Linked DNA regions of Homo sapiens: region 1 is linked to region 2. The links are contacts of gene promoters, found by promoter capture Hi-C in blood cells and fetal thymus (Javierre and others, 2016). All regions are on one chromosome and are shown on one strand. The core of a region is centred on a gene start or on the middle of the fragment in contact, and the rest is flanking DNA. Distances in the headings are between cores, read along the strand shown.

What was found. Contacts are between HindIII fragments. The CHiCAGO score rates a contact against its expected background, and 5 or more counts as called.
Region 1: a fragment that was not itself captured here is called in contact with the fragment with the promoter of TMTC2 in region 2 in 1 of 17 cell types (monocytes); the score reaches 6.8 in monocytes.

What each region holds. Positions count from the first base shown.
Region 1 is chr12:82,976,476-82,979,615 of GRCh38, forward strand. All of the region lies in intron 7 of TMTC2 (transmembrane O-mannosyltransferase targeting cadherins 2), which reads left to right. Among named protein-coding and RNA genes, the nearest start is that of TMTC2, 290 kb to the left of the region's middle. The HindIII fragment of the contact is 2,395 bases long and covers 498-2,892 here.
Region 2 is chr12:82,685,507-82,688,904 of GRCh38, forward strand. TMTC2 (transmembrane O-mannosyltransferase targeting cadherins 2) reads left to right here and starts at 1,400. Exons shown (of 12, transcript NM_152588.3): 1 at 1,400-2,163. The coding sequence starts at 2,081. RefSeq lists silencers at 351-430, 1,281-1,380, 1,951-2,000, 2,361-2,420 and enhancers at 861-1,010, 1,031-1,240. The HindIII fragment of the contact is 3,615 bases long and covers 1-2,223 here.

The DNA.
Region 1 (3,140 bases), core at 445-2,944, 290 kb after region 2:
CCCCTTAAGTTTAATGCTATAGGACTTGAAGAGTTGTATATTGAATCTTTTCCTAACTTTTCTCAAATTAAGACTTGGATAATATTACATTTTACTTTCAATACTACTGTACTGTAGCCGCTAAAGGATTTCCAATCAGAAGCAATATATCTGGGGCAACTAGAGGGTGTTATTTTTATAAGAATAAGATGACAAAAATATTGGGATGGAGATACAAAAGATTCACAAAATTTGACTGCTAAAAGTTACACCAGGTTTGTAGCATAAATGTATTTTTAAAAGGGAGACTCGCTAATGTTTCTAGTAGTGTTTCTAATGCTTCTCAACACTGTGAAGTAAAAAATGATCATCGGACTGCAGGTTCTAGAAAAAAAGAATTATCTGGAAATTTCTCTTCAAGGGCATACTTCGTAAAAAAATGTAACATCTAAATTCAAGTAGATACATAATGTGATCAGGTATTTGTCAGCTATTTATCGAGTACTCTCTGGAGCCAAAGCTTTCTGGACTTAGGTTGAAGACAGAAAAATATATAAAAGATTGTGTGTCTGCTTCCATGCATCTCATAGTCTGGTTTTGTAGCAGAAAGATTATAATTGCTTACCTAGCTAGGTTCCGTAAGTACATAAAAAGTGGGAGAGGGAGTTTGAATAAATCAAGAATTGAATACTATTCTCGAATGGGGAAACTCAATTTTGTAAAAATTCTCTTTTTCTCAAATTTATTTATAGATTTTAATTTAATAGCAATAAACATTCTGAAAAGAATTTTATCAAAAACTTGACAAAATGATTCTAAAACAGTGAAATATAGCCAAGAAAGTCTTAATGAATAATAAAGTTTAAGACTTGTTTGTTCTACTAGATACTCAAATATTAGATGAAGTGATTAGAGTGATATTGTACCCATGAGAAAAGAAAACCAGACCAATAGGACAAAGTGGAGACCCTGGAAATAATAACAAATTATTTAAGGTTGTTGTAGATAATAAATGTAAAATTAAATATTGGTCAGGGAAGGAAATTTGTATAATAGTTGATCTAGACAATTGAGTAAATCTTTGGGAAAGAATAACATCAGATACTTGTCTCATACCACATAGCAAAGTATATTTCATGTGGAATACATAGTTCATTTTAATAATGAAACTATATAATTAGAAAATGATACATATCTCCATGATATAGAAAATGTTTTGTGTATAAAAGATACTTTAATAATATTTTGTATAAAAGATAGTCCAAGAATTCTCCTTCTATACATTTATTTTGAGGTTATAATAAGAGTTGTGTTTTAAAAAGATAATTAAAAAATACAATGATAATTGCAGAAGTGCAGTACTTACATAAAATGTTGGGAGGGGAATTTGAATAGACAACAAACTGAATACTGATTTCGAATGAGAAAACTGAATTTTGGGAAAATTGGCATAGTTTTATTTAAAATAACAAAACACTGGAAGGAACCTAGATGCTTAAAACTAGCAAAATATTTTACTATATAATTGATTTTTTTCAATATGTAATTCAAATTCTTGGAGAAAACATAAAAATTTGCCAGTGGCTATCTATGGGTGATATAATTCTTTCAGTCTTATAAAATTATGATCTTTCAGACTTTCTTCAATGAACAGGTATAATGTTTATAATTAGAAAACAGAGTTATAACTATTAAATGGAATAACCAAGACTTGATCTAGATGCAGCCAATCTTGAATAGATCAACTAAAAATTAAGAATGAGGCAGGATATTTTAAACTAGGATATTTTTACCTCTTTATGAAATGAATGTATATAAATATCTGAGCACTGGTGAACCTACAAATGATTATCCATTTTGGAGATTATGGAGTTATTTATTCTTAGCCCTTCATGTTGTAAATGATAAAACTGAGGACCTTTAAAATCACTCATTTTTCTAAAACATACAGCTATTAATGGCAAAATAAGAATTCAAAACCAATCCATCTAAAATACTATTTTGGTATATATGTTTAATTTCCGTGTGTGTGTGTGTAGTTTTCAAAATTTCTCTCGTTATTGATTTCTAGTTTTATTCCATTGTGATCAGAGAATATACTTGATATAATTTAAGGTTTTTTTAGTTTTTCTAAGACTGCTTTGTGGCATAATATGTGGTCTATTCTTGAAAATGATCCATGTGCTGCGGTGAAAAATGTGTATTCTGCAGCCATTGCAAGAAATGTTCTGTAAATATCTATTAGATCCATTTGCTCTATAGTGCCAATTAAGTCGTCTTTCTTTGTTGACTTTCTATTTGGATGATCTGCCCGATGCAGAAAATTAGGTTTGAAGCCTTCAGCTATTATTGTATTGGGGTCTATCTCTCTAGCCCTAATAATACTTGGTTTATATATCTGGGTTCTCCAGAGTTGGGTGCGTATATATTTACAATTGTTATATCCTCTTGCTGAATTGACACATGTGTGGTTATATAATGACCCTCCTTGTCTCTTTTTATAGTTTCTGTCTTGAAATCTGTTTTGTCTGGTGTAAGTATAGCTACTTCTGCTTTTTTTTGCTTTCCATTTGTGTGGAATATCTTTTTCCATCCCTTTATTTTCAGTCTATGTGTGTCTTTATAGGTAAAGTGTGTTTCTTGTATGCAACAGATTGTTAGGTCTTTTTTTTCTTTTTATTTAGCCACTCAATGTTTTTATTGGAGAATTTAGTCCATTTATATTCAATATTATAATTTATAAATAATGACTTACTCTTGACATTTTGTTGTTTGCTGGTCATTTTGTGGTCTTCTTTCTTTACTTCCTTCCTGTCTTTTAGTGAAGGTGATTTTCTCTGGTTGTATGTTTTAATTTCTTGCTTTTTATTTTTTGTACATCTTTTATATGATTTTAGTTTAAGGTTATAATGAAGCTTGCAAATAATATTTCATAACCCATTATTTTAAACTGATGACAACTTATCACTGAGAGAAAAAGATTAATAAACAAGAAAATAGAAAATGAATAACTCTACACTTTAAATTTCACCCTCCTGCTTTTTAACTTTTAATTCTTTCTGTTTATTTCTTATACTGTGCATGTCTCGAATAGTTGTTGTAGTTATTTGTTTTGATTGGTTCATTTTTCAATCTTTCAACTCAAGATATGAGTAATTATG
Region 2 (3,398 bases), core at 150-2,649:
CCCTACCTGTAAAGACATAATTCCTTTTATTTTTGTTTACATATATTTGTCCAGGGCACAAAAAATGTGCTACTGTGGATGGCATAACAGGTATAATATTAATAAATATTCATCATTTTATCTGTGTGTATCCAATACAGATTTCTCAGATTTCCTTGTGAAATCAGGGAAATATGTAGCTTTGTTCTACAGAAGCCCAGACCACGGTATTTTCTTTCCAGGCCACTGCTAGACACCCAGGGGGCTCAATTTCTTGCCACAGTTTCGGAGAGCTTGCTGGTTAGGTGCTGCTCTTGGTTGGAACCAGTCGGCCCGCATGCAAAACAGACCTGTCTTCCACACCTTGTGGTTACTATGCAGCAGGGGGCGCTGCAGTAGTGTACATCGCGGTGCACCGGAGCTACTCTCCTGGCCAGAAAGCCAACAAGCCGGGAGGAGGCGTGTCAGGCAGCCCTGGGTCCTCTTTGGTCTTGCAACTTTAGTACCCAGAGCTTGTTCTACACAGACCATTCTACACCATATTTCACCATGTTGGATGCTTTCCATCCAGTCCTGCCTCCGAGCGGAAAGGAAAGGGCATTAGCTTACTGCCTTACTAGGTTTAAGTATAATGCTGTACCGGCTTGCACTAGAGGTTTCTCTCCTGTGTTCTCAGGGTCAACCCGACAGTCCCTCTGAAACCACGAAGGGGTCCCCGGGCAGTTGCTGCGGGGTGTGTGTGTGTCTTTCTTTCCCTTTTTGGGGTCCTTTCTTTTTAACCTTACTGAAGGAGGAAACGTTTCTCTCCCTACACGTCTTTCCACTGACATTGTGGCCAACCGTAGGCTAAGAGCTGAAATCTCTCCTTCCTAAGTTGCCTCCAAGCTCTCCAATACTACCTCCTCCCCCCCATTTAGTCTCACACACAGTGTGCGTGAGAGATCGCCAGTGAGTTTGTGACAACCGAAGCTGCAGCAGTCGCCAAACCTGTTCTTCCTCTCCCGGTCTCAGAAGTCTCTCCAGCTGACCGGACTTACGCCTGGCAGCTCTTGGCACACACAGCGCTGTGGCTGAGATTCAGCCGTGCCAGGCGCTGCCAGGCAGCAGCGGGGCGACCGACCACCTCCTCCTCGACCTCCTTTCTCCCAGCTTCCCCTCCCAGGGTGCACTGTATCTACTCCTTTGGGCTGTCTTCCAGCCGTCGCCCTTGGGTCCCGGGGGCTTTCCAGAGTGAAATCGAAGGTGAAAGAAACAAGAGGACGGGAGGCTGGTAGGAGGAGCCTCCAGGCCGGGGAGGGTGGGAGGAGCCTCCAGCCCGAGGGGCAGGGTAGGAGGAGCCTTCCGGGAGGATCTGGGTGGAGAAAGGGGCTGGGCCAAGCCGGGATGGAGGGTTGGTCACGCAGGCGCGGGGGGCCGCGTCGAGAACCCCACGCGGGAGCTTCTGGAGTCTCCAGCCACCGCTTCTCACTTCACTGGAGAAGGGAGCTGGGGCTGGGGCTGGGGCTGGGGCTGGGAGGGAGCTAATAAACATTGAATGTGCAGCAGCTGCCTTGGCGGCCGGAGTCCGCCCGAGCGACACCGGAGCAGTGCGCCCGGGAGGCGGCGAGGGGAGGCGGTTCGCCTTGTCCCTCCCACCCGCGCCTCTTTCTCTCTCTTCCTCCAGCTGGTCCCAGAGCCCGGCTTGGTCCGGTCCCTCTGCCCCCATCCCGCACCCTTCCACCTCCTCCGAGTCCCACTCCTCACCTAGGACGCCCCAAACTGCCATGGGTTAGGGTGGGGATCGCGACCCGCGCGAAAGACCAGCCCTGCGCTTCCGCCGGGGGACGCGGAGCCCAAACGCCGCTCACCGCTTGCGGGCGCCGGGCATGGGGAGTGTGGTGTGAGCCCGCACCCGGGGAGGACGCAGGAGCTGCGGAGACGGGCGCGAGGAGGAGGAGAGGAGTCGTGGATTGGAAGGACCCGAGGGAGGGAGGGTGGGGAAGCGAGGGAAAAGTGAAGCTGGGAGGAGAAGGCGGCGGAAGGTGGAGATTGATGCTTCTGTTTTTTGTTGCCGCTGCTGCCCTCGCGCTGGGAGCCGAGCCGGAGGGAAGGCGGTGGAGAGATGATTGCAGAGTTGGTGAGCAGCGCTCTGGGGCTCGCCTTGTATCTCAACACCCTGAGTGCGGATTTCTGCTATGATGACAGGTAAGGGGCCGAGAGGAGGGGGCGACGGGCTGCAGGGGGCACACTCCGCAGTGGCTCTGAAGCTTCCCTCTTTAAGGCTCAAAGTGCGTCTTGGAGGAACTGGTTCAGCACCTGATGGTTTAGGCGACACGTAAACATTAACACCTAAATCAAACACCGGGGACGTGAGGCGCGCTGGGCGGGCCGAGGGAGTTTCCGCTCCTAGTTTGCAGCAGGTTCTCTCCCTTGCTTCTCGGCTGTTGGCAGACGCTTGAGTTTCTTAGCGGAAATCCCGGCAATTTGGGAAACTGTTTAATGAACGTATTAAATTAAAGTCTTAGGTATTCCTTGATGCAACAAAGCACATTAAGTGATTTTACGTCTGGTTGGGAGGAAGCCTCTCCTCGATCCCTGATAGATCCTCCCTGTCCCGTTTCCTTTTATTGATGGGACACTTTTATTTCCCGAAGTTAAAACACACGTTTGATAGTTGCCAAAATTGTGAAAAGGGAGATCGTTCTCTGCTTTAACTTTCCCTTTTAACGTGTATAGACTTTTACTTTGAGCCAAAATAATGCTGCTGATGGTCTCTCCCGCCGCCCTAGCCTCCTTCACCAATCCATTGGGCAGCACTTTATAAAAGCCTCGGCTTTCTCATTTCTGTTTGGGAGTTGTACATTAGATGTTAGTGGTTCTTTTGTACTAATTGGAGAAGAAGACGCCCCTAGAGACTGAAGTTGTCTTCTGCACTTAGGTTAGTTTGGGTGGCTAATGAGACCTGAACTGTGTTGTCAAAGAAACTGCATCGATTTCTGGAAAATGTCACCGTTGTGTTGGTGTCTCTTCCTATCTTTTAAACGTTATTAGTGTTCAGAAAGTGATGAAAAGCCCCTATATCCATTAGGGAAAATTCCAATTTGTGTCCTTCCGGTGTCTTAATCTGATTACAATTAAAACAGATGCATAATTAAAATATATTAGGGATAACAGCACGCCTGGCTAAACTTATTAACCGTCCTGGGGTGTTTCATGCTCCATTGAAATTAAACCATCCAAAAAGTGAGCACAGATTTACTTTGACAGCTTTTCAGCAGCCTCTCTGAGCTATGAAAAGTGAATGGATCCCCAGGGTTAGGGCGAGGCAGTGAGAGCACTTACGCAAAGTGGTTGACAGTGAGGGGAGGTGAAGGCAGAATCTTCTTCTCGTCGTAATTAGCCACATTCTGTATTCTCTGGTGTGCCCATTCTCCTGCTAA